2 separate regions of the Homo sapiens genome follow, and region 1 is linked to region 2. Evidence: promoter capture Hi-C in human tissues and cell types (Jung and others, 2019). All regions are on one chromosome and are shown on one strand. The core of a region is centred on a gene start or on the middle of the fragment in contact, and the rest is flanking DNA. Distances in the headings are between cores, read along the strand shown.

Region 1 (7,362 bases), core at 3,239-5,738, 560 kb before region 2:
CAGTAGCTGGAACTACAGGTGTGCGCCACCATGCCCGGCTAATTTTTTTGTATTTTTAGTAGAGACGGGGTTTCACCATGTTGGCCATGCTGGTCTTGAACTCCTGACCTCAGGTGATCCACCCGCCTCGGCCTCCCAAAGTTCTGGGAGTGTAAGTGTGAGCCACCATGTCTGGCCAGACATCTTCATCTTAATGTTGACAATTTCTATAGCATCCATGACTTATTCACAAAGATGACAAATTATGAATAACATGAACCACATGTAAACAAGAGGGTCTTATTTTTGCTGGATACTTAAAATATAAGCCATAAAGTCTCATATACGCAGACAGACAGACAGACACACACACACACACACTTTCTGTCTCTCTGTTACTTAGTATACAACTGAGAGAGAAACATTTATATTATTTTTAAAAAATAGAAAATAGGGAAGGGTGTGGTGGCTCACATCTGTAATTCCAGAACTTTGAGAGGCAGAGGCGGGCGGATCACGAGGTCAGGAGTTCCAGACCAACCTGACCAACATGGTGAAACTCCATCTCTACTAAAAATACAAAAATTAGCCAGGTGTAGTGGCAGGCACCTGTAATCCCAACTACTCAAGAGGCTGAGACAGGAGAATCGCTTGAACCCAGAAGGCAGAGGTTGCAGTGAGCTGAGATCACCCCACTGCACTCTAGCCTGGGCAACAGAGCAAGACTTCCCCTCAAAAAAAAAAAAAAAAAAAAAAAAAGACACGGATGTTCTAGCTAGAAAAGCATAAATTATGATTCTGACTTTTCCTTCCCAGAAACATCTCAAAATCTCTTTACACTAGAGATATTTTATCTGGAAAAACAGGTAACAAAAAATTGTACTAAAAAATTCCTTCCAATCTCATTAAGAGTTCTATACAGAACTATGAATAATTTTAAAAATTAATCTCCAAATTAAGCCTAAGATTCTCCAACATGTATCAAGAAACACTACATACACTTGGAACTAAAGCTCCTTAAGTCAAATTATCTTAAGCTCCTGATTAACAACAATCTACTGAAAAATCACCACTCAGTGTGTGGGGTTTTGTTTGTTTGTTTTTGACAGAGTCTTGCTCTGTCGCCCAGGCTGGAGTACAGTGGCACGATCTCGGCTCACTGCAACCTCCGCCTCCCGGGTTCAATCTATTCTCCTGTCTCAGCCTCCCCAGCAGCTGGGATTACAGGCGCATGGCACAAGACATGGCTAATTTTTTTGTATTTTTAGTAGAGACGGGGTTTCACCATATTGGTCAGTCTGGTCTCGAACTCCTGACCTCAGGTGATCCACCTGCCTCGGCCTCCCAAAGTGCTGAGATTACAGGCGTGAACCACTGCACCTGGACCTTAGTGTGCTTTGATATTCTACAAACAGTAGGAATAGGGATATGTCAGACACATAATACAGTGAATTATCATTCCCAACCTTACTCATTTCCTCACCATAATAACCCTTCTACTTTCTAATCATATTAAAAAGAACAAAAGTGTAAAAATACATCATACACTGACAAGCATTCATAAGGCTAATCAAAGTCACATTTACCACCTATATGTGAAATTCTTTTGAAGATGTCTACTCATGTGAATGCTTGATACAGGGCATTAAAATGACCTACCCTAGCTTATGGCAGTATCTCACAAAAAGGTCCCTTTCAAAGAGCAACACAAGAGAAAAGATCTGAAGGGGCTTTCATGCAAATTATCTTATCCTTTTTTCCCCACCTTTTATGTTCACTATTTTAAAATCTCAAATAGATTTACTGTTTTAAGTAAAACAATTGTAGTATTTTTCTTAGATTATTGCAGTATTCCTGTACCCCCTATTTCTTGCCAAATATTTCTGACATTAATTTATACTTATATGGCGAGAACAATAAAAAACATTAACAAGAGTGTAGATATATGTGTGTGTGTATCTTTATATATTAATATATACACACACACACACAGGGACAAATAAGGAGACAATAAGTGTCTATTTTAAAGCAGGGACATTGCTTTTTATTCCAATCATTCAATGCCCATCATGCAAAAAAGGTGGAAAACATTAGATTTTAAGACTTACGACAGAGAAATGACTTAGTTGTAGCAACCATTCATATCAAATAACCTTACAAAACATAAGCAAGAGAAAGACGCTGTGAAAGGGCAATACAGCATTTCACAGCTTCTGCTCCCTTACTCCACCCAGTCTTCTCGGCTCAATGGCTGTTCACAGCATCCACAAATATTAGCCCATTTTTTTAAAAAAGGATGTGGGGGGAGGTACCAACGTAGGGCTTGCTCCATCAAAATCAACATATACAGAAATACTTCAAGTGAAAAATTGGATTCCTTTCTGATTTTAAAATATATACCAGCCTTCAATTTCTTTTAGGAGATTCCCCCCTTCTGAGCAATCCAAACAATGATCATTAATGAACACGAAAGAAATCACCCTAAATACAGATTACTCTTCTGCTTTATTAAAAACTGCAATTTGCAACTGCTAATTATTTTGTGAAACTGTGTCCTAAAAGACACCCATTAGAGATTAAAAGCTAGCTAATGCCTTAAAACCAAATCAGAATTTTTTAAGTAAAAGCTTTTACTATATATTCAACATCACTATGACACAGTCAACAGGAAATTTTCCTGATTATGAGACTGGACCCCGCAGCAATTAAGCCGCCCTGCTGCAGCAAAAAAAAAAAAAAAAGCAAACACTCCTGTGGCAAAAAGGGAGGGATGACATTATCACTGGTATGAAAGGCCCAAGCACTGTCTCCTCCGCCCTAGCCTCGAAAAGAAATTCACACAAAATAACCCACCCCCCCAACAAAAACAGAATTGCCAAAAATGGCACAAATTGTTTGTTTGGCCTTTAAAACCTTATGAAACTCCAAGACTGTGTGCTTAAAGGAGAGATGGGAATATCAGTAATATCTCTATTTGTCCGGACTGCCACTTAAGGAAAGAGGGAGGGGGGACCTTGGCATGACATCGCCCATTGAGAACGAGACCACAAATCTGGTCCTCCTCTTCAAAGGCGTATTTTCTTAACCAAAAGACTGATATAAATTGGGCCCAAACCCCAAAAGAAAATTTCCTGCCCTCTTCCCAAGGAGTTTCTTGCTAAGTCACTGAAGAAAGGTAGCATAACATATAAAGCTATGGTACCTTGCTCTCTCCTACTAAATACGGAAAACCTCTTCCCCTCTACTGCTACGTTTAGAGGTGCAGAGTCAAAATGTGTCGACCACCTCAAAGGCATTTTCTCATGTGGGAGGCTAAAGAGGGTAAATATGCAGAGGCACTGCGTTTCCCAAAGGGGCAGGGAGATGAGATTAGACGAAGGGGAATGGCAGGGAGCCTCGAAGCTGAATGTTAACAGCATCAAAAGGCAACTCCCGACCGAGGAGCCGGTGGCAGAAAGAAAATCCTGCCAGATTCGGTGGGTGGATGCTGCGGATTGCTCGGTGGGCCGGGCTGCCTCTCCTCGGCGGGTGCTGAGGCTGGACCGCCGCACCGGGGGCCAGGGAGACGGTGGGCCACCCTCCGCTGGTCAACCCCATCTTAAGGACCAGTCGGGGACGGAATGCCTGGAAGGCCCTATGAGTGCCCCGGCGGCGCGGGGCTGAGCCGGTCCCCGAGCCGATAACTGAGGGTGGGGTGGGGACTGCGGTGCTCGTCTCCGCGGCCGGGGAGAGCAGGGCCGATCCTTTTCCCCAAGATCAGAGAGCTACCTGGTCCCCACGCCCTTCCAACCCAAGAATACTTTTCTTGCTAAGTCACCGAGGGAGGAGGGCGATCCCTTCTTGGGGAGGGCCGCGGGGCGGGGGTCGCAGAGGCGCCGGCAGCCCCCAAAGCCGGGCCCGGGAGGAGAGGAGCGAGGGCAGCGCCCTCCCCGGACAGTCCCCCTCCTCCGGGTCTCTCACTCAACGGCCGTCGCGGCCGCCATTTTGAGAGCGAGGAGAGAAGAAGAAGGAGGAGGCGGCGGCGGAGGCAGGGGGAGGGGAGAATGGGAGGGAGGGGACCGGCGCAGCCACATCGTCAGGCCGCCGGGTCCGGCCTGCAGCCGCCCGGGCGCGGTGGAGGAGACAGAGGGGAGGGCGCAGACCCGCGCCGCCTTACCGGAGCGCTGCACCGCCGCCTCCGCAGGGCCTCTTCCGTCCTTCACTCCCATCCACCGGCGGGGGAGGGGGAGGGAGAGGGGAGGGAGGAAGGAGGGAGGGAGGGAAGGAGGGGGGAGGATGGCGCGCTGGGCCCGGGCCCGGGGAGGGGGAGGGGAGGGGAGCGGGCGGGCTCCTCAGCCGTTCCGGGGCTCGAGTCCAAGCTCGGCGCTCGCGGTTTCTCTCGCTCGCGCCCGAGCGCTCCCCTCCTTCTCCTTCTCGCTCCCTAGACTCCCGTGTCGCTGCTCCTCCGCTCGCTCACTCGCTCTCCCGGCCGCCGGACTCCGCCGCCGCCCCGCCGCTCCAGCTCCGTCTGTCACAGGAGCTGCCCCAACGCCCTGACGTCACCGCGCCGCCGCCGCCGCCGCCGCCGCCGCCCCAGACCCGCCAGGAAGAGGGAGGGGCGGGCGCCGGGAGCGGAGGAGGGGCTGCGGCGCATGCGCCGGGCTGGGCCGGGCCGGGGCCGCGCTGCCTTCTAGCGGGCGGGCGGCTGAGCGGTGCCACCCGGCCGGCGGGCGAGTCTGCGTGCGAGGTGCTGCTTCTCACGCTCCGCACGCTTCTGTTAACCTTGGGAGAGGCTCTTTTTTCCCAGCCCCTCGTCTGACTTGCGGCCCCTTCTGAACTCTGGCTCTGCTCACCTCGCTGCCCTGCTTTTGCGCTCATGCGGCCGACCGCGGCGTCCCGTTGGCACCGTGTGTGGCGGGCCCCGGGAGGCGCGAGAGGCAGCGGGGCCCGGCCACCTACCGCCCCTTTCTGCCTCCGGCCTCCGAGATGATTTCCCAGTTTGGGGGGGAATGAGGGAGGGGAGTAGGCTGGCTGGCTTGGGAGGAGGAGCTGTTGAGGTTAAAAGGCAGATGGAATGCTGTCATTGTCTTGATTTGTATTATAGATTCTTAATTGGGAGGACTCGCTTTTGGATATGATTCAGCTATTCTTCTCCTTAGTCACACACAGACATCAGAGTCTCTCCAGGTCTCGAAACGGATGCCCAAAGAAAGGCCTGGAACTGTATCCCTATAAGGGATGTCTGTGTGTGTTTGCTAAATTATGGATTGAAATATTGATGACAAGAGTCGTCTTGGGGATTTGTAGTTAATTTATTCCACACAGATACCTATGATTTTTCTTTTCTTTTCCTTTTTTTTTTTTTTTTTTTTTTGAGACGGAGTCTCGCTGTGTCGCCCAGGCTGGAGTGCAGTGGCGCGATCTCGGCTCACTGCAACCTCCGCCTCCCGAGTTCAAGCGATTCTCTGCATCAGCCTCCCGAGTAGCTGGGAGTACAGGCACTTGCCACCACGCCCAGCTAATTTTTGTTTTTTGTTTTTGTTTTTGTTTTTGAGATGGAGTCTCGCTCTGTCGCCCAGGCTGGAGTGCAGTGGTGCAATCTCCACTCACTGCAGGCTCCGCCTCCCGGGTTCACGCCATTCTCCTGCCTCAGCCTCCCGAGTAGCTGGGACCACAGGCGCCCACCACCACGCCCGGCTAATTTTTTTGGTATTTTTAGTAGAGACGGGGTTTCATCATGTTGGCCCGGATGGTCTCGATCCCTTGACCTCGTGATCCGCCCGCCTCTGCCTCCCAAAGTGCTGGGATTACAGGCGTGAGCCACCGTGCTCAGCCGACCCTTGATTTTTAAAAAGCGAGATTTGGGGTTCTGAATAATTCAATATGGGCTATTATTTTAATAACAGGTTTAAATGAGATTATCTTATCATTCATTTGTATTGTCCAAGGAAGCTTTTTTCTTGAAACAGGCTTAAGCTTATGTGTACTGATTTTATTGCGTCACTTTATGTAGGTAAATATATATATATATACTGCATTTGAGAAGCAGCAGAGTTAACGAAAGAGACAACTTAGGTGTAAATCCTGGACCCCGCACTTGCCAGAAGCGCGACCTGGGGCAAATTACCATACCTCTCTTTGGCCTCAGTTTCTCAATAAAAGACACCTAATAACTAACCCGGCTTTTGTGAGAATTACAGAGGAGGTGCAGCCTGTGTAAAGTATCTTAGTTTCGTGGGGACTTATAGGTAACTCATGTAAACATTACTGTTGCTTGATACCAAAACAAGTTTCCTTTGTTCAAGAAAGGTTATCTCTGCCAGGCACAGGTTGCTAACCCCTGTAATCCCAGCAATTTGGGAGGCCAAGGCAGGGATGGGGAGGTTGGGAGGGGGGCCGTGGATCACCTGAGCCAAGGAGTTGGAGACCAGCAGGTGCAACATAGTGAAACCTCATCTCTACAAAAAAATTTTAAAAATTAGCTAAGTGTGGTGGCACATGCCTGTAGTCCCAGCTACTGGGGAGGATGAGATGGGAGGATTGCTCAAGCCCTGGAGATCCAGACCAGCCAGGGCAACAAAGCAAGATCTCATCTCTAAAAACAAAAAAAGAAAAGAAAAACAGCCGGGCGCGGGGACTCACGCCTGCAATCCCAACACTTTGGGAGGCTCAGACAGGTGGATCACTTGAGGTCAGGATTTCGAGACCGGCCTGGTCAACATGGCGAAATGCCATCTCTACTAAAAACACAAAAATTAGCCGGGCATGGTGGTGTGTGCCTGTAATCCCAGCTACTTTCGGGACTGAGGCATGAGAATCGCTTGAAGCCGGGAGGCGGAGGTTGCAGTGAGTCAAGATCATGCCACTGCACTCCAGCCTAGGTAACAAAGCCAGAGTCTGTCTCAAAAAAACAAACAAAAACAAAAACTTTTAATTAGCTGGGTGTGGTGGCGCATGCCTGGAGTCCTAGCTACCCAGGAGGCAGAGGCAGGCGGATCGCTTGAGCCCAGGAGGTCCAGGCTGCAGTGAATCATGGTCATGCTACTGCACTGTATCCTGGGCAGACTGGACCCCCATCTCTAAAAATAGGCTGGGATCAGTCGTTCAAGGCTGTAATCCCAGCACTTTGGGGTGCCAAGGTGGGAGAATCTCTTGAGCCCAGGAGTTGGAGAGCAGCTTGGGCAAGACAGGGAAACCCCGTCTCTACGGAAAAATAGAGAAATTAGCCAGATGTGGTGGTTTGGGCCTGTGGTTCCACCCATTGGGAGGCTGAGATGGGAGGATCGTTTGAGCCCAGGAGGTGGAGGCTGCAGTGAACCGAGATCACACCACTGCACTCCAGCCTGGGTGACAGAGCAAGACCCTGTCTCAAAATAAAGTTAAATTAAATAAGTAAAATGAGTA
Region 2 (6,892 bases), core at 719-3,218:
CCTGACTCAGAACCCCACTGACTGTGGCCACACTGTTCGTTCTTTCACGCTTACCTCTCCTCATTTAAAAGGGAAATAAACATCATACATTTAACTGACTTAGCTGTCCCATTGCTCCTCCTTACTCTTAAACCAGGAAGGATGGAAAGAACACTTGAGTCAGGGTGGTGGACGTACCAGTAAGGACAGAAAAGTGACCTTGTCCCTTAGAGACCAGCAGTCTAGTGGGGGAAAAGACAGGTATACACATAATTACAACTCCTGGAGTAAAGGGGAAACCGTAGCCCTTAGCAAACTGCAACTCTTACTCTGGTCTCATCCTACTCCTAAGTAGGATAAAAAATAATAAGCTGAATAAACAATTCATCTTATTATTTTTTAAGGCAGGGTCTCACTCCATCACCCAGGCTGGAGTGCAGGGGTGCAATCATGGTCCACTGCGGCCTCGACGTCCTGGGCTCAAACGATAATCCTCCCACCTCAGCCTCCCCAGTAGCTAGGACCACAGGCATGTGCCAAGACGCAGGGCTAATTTTTTTTTTTTTTTTTTTTTTTGAGACAGAGTCTCACTCTGTCTGTTGGCCAGGCTGGAGTGCAGTGGTGCAATCTCGGCTCACTGCAACCTCAGCCTCTCGGACTCAAGCAATTCTCCTGCCTCAGCCTCCCGAGTAGCTGGGATTACAGGCGTGTGCTACCACACGCGGCTAATTTTTGTATTTTTAGTAGAGACAGGGTTTCCACCATGTTGGCCAGGCTGGTCTCAAACTCCTGACCTCAGGTAATCCGCCCGCCTCAGCCTCCCAGAGTGCTGGGATTACAGGTGTAAGCCACCGTGCCCGGCCACGCACGGCTATTTTTTATTTTTTTGTGCATACAGGGTCCCCCTATGTTTCCCAGACTGGTGTGGAATTCCTGGGCTCACACAATCCTCCTTAGCCTCCCAAAGTGCTCAGACTAAAGGTGTAAGCCACTATGCCCTGCCCCGACAATTAAGCTTAGTTCAACCCCGTTATCTCTTCAGGAGCCACAGAGTCTGAGGATATGAAAAGGCAAGAAATTAACTTATTCAACGAATATGTATTGAGACTGTGCTATGTGCCACAACTTCTGCTAGGGCCCCACACTATGATAGGAGGGACCCGCCCAGACATGAGGCTTCACCCACTGTGTGGGCGGCGGTGGGGATGGTCCAGCGGAGGCTGGGGCCCTGAGATCAGATTTGAACGTTACCACTGCTATGGTTTTTGGCCAGTTGTTTCAAAAGCCTTGGACAATCAGCCTAGGCTTCCTAGGCCCATTACAGATCCTCCTCTGACAGGTCCCTAGTGGTCGCTGGCGTGTAAGGAACTGCTAACATTAGCCCTTCAATGTGTCCCAGGGACCAGTAGGCACCTCCTCCTTTATCACGTGGCTATGATATGTTTACATTAACATTCCCCCAGTAGACTGAGATCTCTGATTCTAGTACCTGCACCCAGCGCAGGCCTGGCATTCGGTGGGCGCTCAGTTAATGCCTGGCGAATGAAACCTTTTGCCTCTTCCCTGAAAGCATTCCCTGAGGGCGCACTCGTAAAATGCCCGCTGCATCTGGCCTGGCCCTTTCCCTCCCCGTCGAGTCCATTTTATCCGTCTACCCGCCAAGACAAGGCTGTAGTTTCCGATTGGAGGATTAAGGGCTGCTCTCGGTCGTGCCCTAAAGCTGCAAAAGACTGGTACCCCTGGGCTCCGGCTGACAGCGACCCCGAGCTGGTGACAGCGGCCCAAGGCGACTAACAGCGGGATCTAGCGGAGAAAGGCGCCGCCGCCGTTAAAGGGGGTTGGTCCTGTCCCTAACTTGGGGGCCCCGCCCCGAGATGCGAGGTCTGGAGGGCGCAGCGTTCCAGCACCCACCTCTGCCAGGGCCGTCTCGGCCGCCCTGCTCCGCTGCCCCGGATACGACCAGCGCCGCCATCACCTGCCTGCGCATGTGGTACTAAAAAGACAGCGCTGGAAGAACGCGGAGAGCGCAGACATTGCGATCGATCGCCGATCGGCCAGCGGGGGCGGGGGATACCCGCTGGGCGGGGCCATAAAGGAGGAGATAGGGGCGGGGCTGTAGTGGGCTCCACCCCAGCCCAGAATGCCGGGACTCAGGATTCCCTAGAGGTCCCCGACTATGCAGTTGCCCTTGCCCTGCGACTTAGTCTCCCACTCCTCTCCCCGGCCGGGCACGAGCCTGGCACTCCCGGACCGGTGCTCTCCTATGTGCGAACTCCCTGCACGAACTCTGCAGGCCGAGTCTTGTGAAGGGGACACCCACCAGATGTTCCTTGAGCCCCCCCTGCCAGTCTCCCCTCCTGGTAAGCAGTGGTCGGTCACCCGGCCGCCGTGTGGGGCCACGTTCCCTACCTAGGGGGACTCTACTGTCCGGCAGGACAGAACTCAGGGACCACCAGCCCAGCTCCAAGTTGAGAGTCTTGGTGCAGGTTTGTGGATCGCCCTTATCAGCTTTTTAAATTATTTTTTTTGAGACAGGGTCTTGGTCTGTCGCCCAGGCTGGAGTGCAGTGGTGCGATCATGGTTCACAGCAGTCTCAACCTTCTGGGCTCAATTCATCTTCCTGCCTCAGCCCCCTGAGTACCCGGGACCACAGGCGTACGTTCAGCTAATTTTTTTTTTTTTTTTTTTTTTTTTTTTTAGTAGAGATAAGGTTTCACTATTTTGCTCAGGCTGGTCTTGAACCTCTGGACTCAAGCAATCCTCCCACTTTGGCCTCCCAAAGTGCTGGGATTACAGGCGCGAGCCACTGCACCCAGCCTTTATCACCTTTAGAATCCACTGCGTAGACCCTGTAGAAACTGCCCCTCTGGGGAAGGCCCACAGCCTGAGGGTGCTTTCCTGGGAAGGTGGGCAGTGGAGGACTGTGATGTCTAACCCTTCTGGACCCTGGCCAACCTTTGCCCTGCCCCTCAGGGCTGGTCTTTCTCCTGATCACTGGCCAGAGCCCCAGAGACCCCAAAGAGAAGACAGCCAGTGAGACGGCTTTGACCTGTGGAAGAGCAAAGTACCTGCAGGACTGGCCCTCAGCAGTCTGTCCCGTGGAACAATGGTCTTCCAGGTCTGACGGTCTACCCAGCCCCCTGGCATCCTCCTCCTCTCTCTGCGGTGGTGCTGTGATCACAGCTGGCCCTTTAAGTCAGCTCTGTGTCCTCGGGCTCCCCCAGAGGCCCTCCCTGCTTGGAAACCCCTAATTAAGGTGCAGGGAGAAGTAAAAACAAGCAGCCAGAGACAGGCCCTGCCTGGGAGGCTGCCCAGAGAGGAGGAATGGCTGGACAGGCAGGGAGTGAGCAGCTGAGGGACCATCACCAAGGGTCAGTGCTGTGCCCCCCAGGCCACCGGCACTCTTAGGACAGGTAGCTCTAGACAGAAAAGTGACCAATGTGGGTCCCAGGAACACTCCCCTCAACTCGATAAGCGTCCGGACTAGACCTTCCCATCTCCCCCCAGCTTCTCTGGATCCCCAGGGTGCAAGATCTGAATTCTGGGAGCTCAGCCCCTCCTCTCTCAGGACACTGCTGCCCAGCCTGTGGACAGCCTTAGCTGTGACTGCAGCATGGAGTTTCAAGGGGAAAGGACTGGCTCCAACTGAGCAATGGCTTCTCCCTAGCAGGCGCCATATCCCTTGGGACCTTTCCCTCATCAGAGGTGGGGCCTGTTTGATGGCAAAAGTCCCATCCCTCTAGTAACATTGCCCCGCACCCGCTGTGCCTAATGAGCTGCTCTGGCCCCCATTAGGAAGCCGGATGATGCCTAGGAGAACTGGACATGAAGAACAGATGTGAGAATGCTTCCCCAAGACTCCGTGGTGCAGGACATTGGGGGCTGCCATTCAGCTTGGGCTGAGGGCACCTCCATCTGTCTGTGGGGGTCTCCCTGCCTGAGTTACTCAGCAGTCTGAGTAATTACTGCCTGACAAGAAGGCGGGCACAGTGCACCCCCACAGTACACCACAACACCCGCCTTCACTCGCCCCCACTCCCTGGCTGGACTCCAAGGCAGCACCCAACCCTCCTGAGGCCTGAAATAACTCTGCTTCTCACACTCACGCCCAGCCCCAGCCAACTTTTCCTAAGACGCTAGAGTTTGTGGGCTAGGGGGTCATGGGGAGGCGGCTTGGAGAGGTGGAAGGAGGATTATCCCACATTCAGGCCCTGAGTCAGGCCCACACTTTATCGCTGATCTGTGATGTGACGTTGAGCAAGTTGTTCATCCTCTCTGGGCCTCGGTGTACTTACAGAGGACCTCTCAGGCTCCCAGTGTCAGGGCTAAGGCAGGCAGTGGGGTGAGCACTGCCTTGTAGCTGGTGGCTAAGAGAAGGAATACCTCACCTTCTGTTCTACGCCAAGAGGGACCAATCTTTTTTTGTTCGTGTTTAACTGCTCCTGTGGCCATGGGCAGTGTGCCCAGAGTAGCAGCCATCCATCTTTTTTTATCTTTAAACATTTTTTTGAAATAGAGATGGAGTCTCACACTGTTGCCCAGGCTGGTCTCAAACTCCTGGCCTCAAGCAATCCTCCCACCCCAGCCTTCCAAAGTGGTGAGATTATAGGTGTGAGCCCATGGTCCTCAGGAAGGACCAATCTTATCTATCTTCAGAACAAGGTTACTTCTCACCTTCAAGCATCTACGTGGAATGCCCTTCCCCCTTCTTAGTGTGGTGAACTCAGCCTTCAAGACCTAACTCCAAGGGCACCTCTTCTGTGACTGTTTCCTGATTATCTGGTAGCCCCTGGCAGAGCTAGCAGAGCCCTTTCGCAGTCTTTGTGACTTCTGTCAGTCACACTCTAAGATGGTTTGCGGGTCTTTCTTTTCCCACGACACCTGAAGCTTCTGGAAGTCCAAGCCCAGAGCCTTAGCTCAAATCTGAAGCTTCAGTGCCACCAAATGCAGGTGTGAGTGAATACGTCAGACTGGCCTTCTTTTTTTTTGTTTGTTTTGTTTTTTTGAGACAGTCTCGCTCTGTCACCCAGGCAGGAGTGCAGTGGTGTGATCTCGGCTCATTGCAATCTCCATCTCCTGTGTTCAAGAGATTCTCCCGTAGCCTCCCAAGTAGCTGGGATTACAGGCGCACACCACCACGCTCGGCTAATTTTTGTATTTTTAATAGAGACGGGGTTTCACCTTGGCCAGGCTGGTCTCGAACTCCTGACCTCAAGTGATCTGCTCAGCCTCCCAAAGTGCTGGGATTACAGGTGTGAGCCACCGCGCCCAGCCTGGCCCTTTTTTTTTTTTTTTTTTTGAGACAGAGTCTCACTCTGTCACCCAGGCTGGAGTGCAGTGGCGCGATCTCGGCTCACTGCAACCTCCGCCTCCCGGGTTCAAGCGAGTCTCCTGCCTCAGCCTCCCGAGTACCTGGGATTACAGGCGCCTGCCACCATGCCCGGCTAATTTTTGTATTTTTATTAGAGACCGGGTTTCACCATGCGGGCCAGGGTGGTCTCGAACTCCTGACCTCGTGATCTGCCTGCCTCCGCCTCCCAAAGTGCTAGGATTACAGGCGTGAGCCACCGCGCCCGGCCCTGACCTTCTTTTTGACCTTCCTATCATGTCACCTTTTCCTACAAGGAGGGATTCAGTTGGATTTCTGCTTGGATGTCACCTGCTCAGAGCAGCTTTCCTTGACTGCCACCTCTACCCCCGTGTCAGCTCCAGAACAATACTCTGCTTGTTTTTCTTCGAAGCACAATCTTCCCATCTTCTCTGGACTTTCCTCATTTGGCCCCTATTAAAATGGAAACTCCTTGAGGACAGGGCAAAGACAAGTCTTTTTCGTCTGCTGAATTTTCAGGAACAGTAGTGCCCCACACATGCTGAGCCTTCGGTGAATGTGTGTTGAATGACAGCCTTGGTCCATCCGCTTTTTCTTCTCTCCGAATCCCTCTGATCCCAGGCCAGCAGGGGGTGCCGCCTCCACCCAGGATCTCGCCTGGCCCGAACCTTCTCTTCCCTCAGCTCAACAGGCCCCTGCGGGACCCGCTTTCCAAGCGGCGCCTCCTCCATTTTCCGCGAACCCCCCGGCGGGGTCTGTGTGGACCAAGGGAGATCAGAGACCCCCCGCCGCCACCCCACCCAGGCGGAGACGGCCCACCCGAACCCGCACGGGTCCTTCCTTCTCCCTGGAATTTGCAGCTGGCCCTTTCCGAATGCTTGCTCCCCTCCTCTCCCCACGAAAGAACAGTGTCCTGGGACTCGGGGTGCGGGGCAGCCGGGTTCGCTGGAGCTGTTCAGTGCGGGGAAGAGCCGTCGAGACTGGGAGAAGGGGCGCTGGCCAGGGAGGAGACGGGGCAGGGAGCGGACTCGCGATCCGTACTCTGGGCGGCGGTCCTCGCGTCCCAGCCGCGTCTCCCGATGACCTCCAGCCGCGAAGGGCGAGCGGGCGGGGGCTGGGCTGCGGGTTCGGGCTCCAGGAGGCCTGCGGGGCCGGGGAGGGGCGTGGAGTGGTCCGAGGACCGGCTTGGGGACTGGGGGCAGGTGCCTGGACGGACGCGGGCCGAGCATCTTCCCCGGGGGCGGGCGCAGTGAAAACACCTTGGGAGGCGGCGCCGCGCGGCTGAGCGCTGCTGCCTTGGGAATAGGACGGCGCTCGGCACTGCGAGCTGAGAGCACTTTCATAAATTTTGTATGGGAGGCGCTCCGTGAGCGGGGGCGGGGAGCGGAGCGAGAGGGAGGGAGCTAGAGAGCAAGGGAGGGAGGGAGGAGGAGAGGAGGGGGAAGCCGGGGGGAGGAAGGGAGGCGCCCCGCTCCGCCGATCGCTCGGTCCTGCAAACGCGCGCCGGGCGCTTTCCCCGGAGCTCGGCGGTGCGTGCGAGCGCCCTTTTGCTGCAGCCGCGGCGGCGGTGGTCCGAGGGGGCGG

Evidence for each region. The method cuts DNA at HindIII sites, captures the fragments that hold promoters and counts their contacts. A contact is called where the count stands out against the background at its distance.
Region 1: the fragment with the promoter of PAFAH1B1 here is called in contact with the fragment with the promoter of DPH1 in region 2 in 1 of the 25 tissues and cell types used here (adrenal gland).

The regions. Positions count from the first base shown.
Region 1 is chr17:2,590,780-2,598,141 of GRCh38, reverse strand. PAFAH1B1 (platelet activating factor acetylhydrolase 1b regulatory subunit 1) reads right to left here and starts at 4,488. Exons shown (of 11, transcript NM_000430.4): 1 at 4,136-4,488. RefSeq lists silencers at 3,640-3,689, 3,750-3,809, 4,220-4,449, 4,500-4,719 and an enhancer at 4,554-5,282. The HindIII fragment of the contact is 12,163 bases long and covers 1-7,362 here.
Region 2 is chr17:2,025,229-2,032,120 of GRCh38, reverse strand. DPH1 (diphthamide biosynthesis 1) reads right to left here and starts at 1,968. Exons shown (of 13, transcript NM_001383.6): 1 at 1,891-1,968. The coding sequence starts at 1,951. It overlaps RTN4RL1 (reticulon 4 receptor like 1), which reads left to right and starts at 6,787. Exons shown (of 2, transcript NM_178568.4): 1 at 6,787-6,892. RefSeq lists enhancers at 1,037-1,628, 1,629-2,220, 5,726-6,226. The HindIII fragment of the contact is 15,169 bases long and covers 211-6,892 here.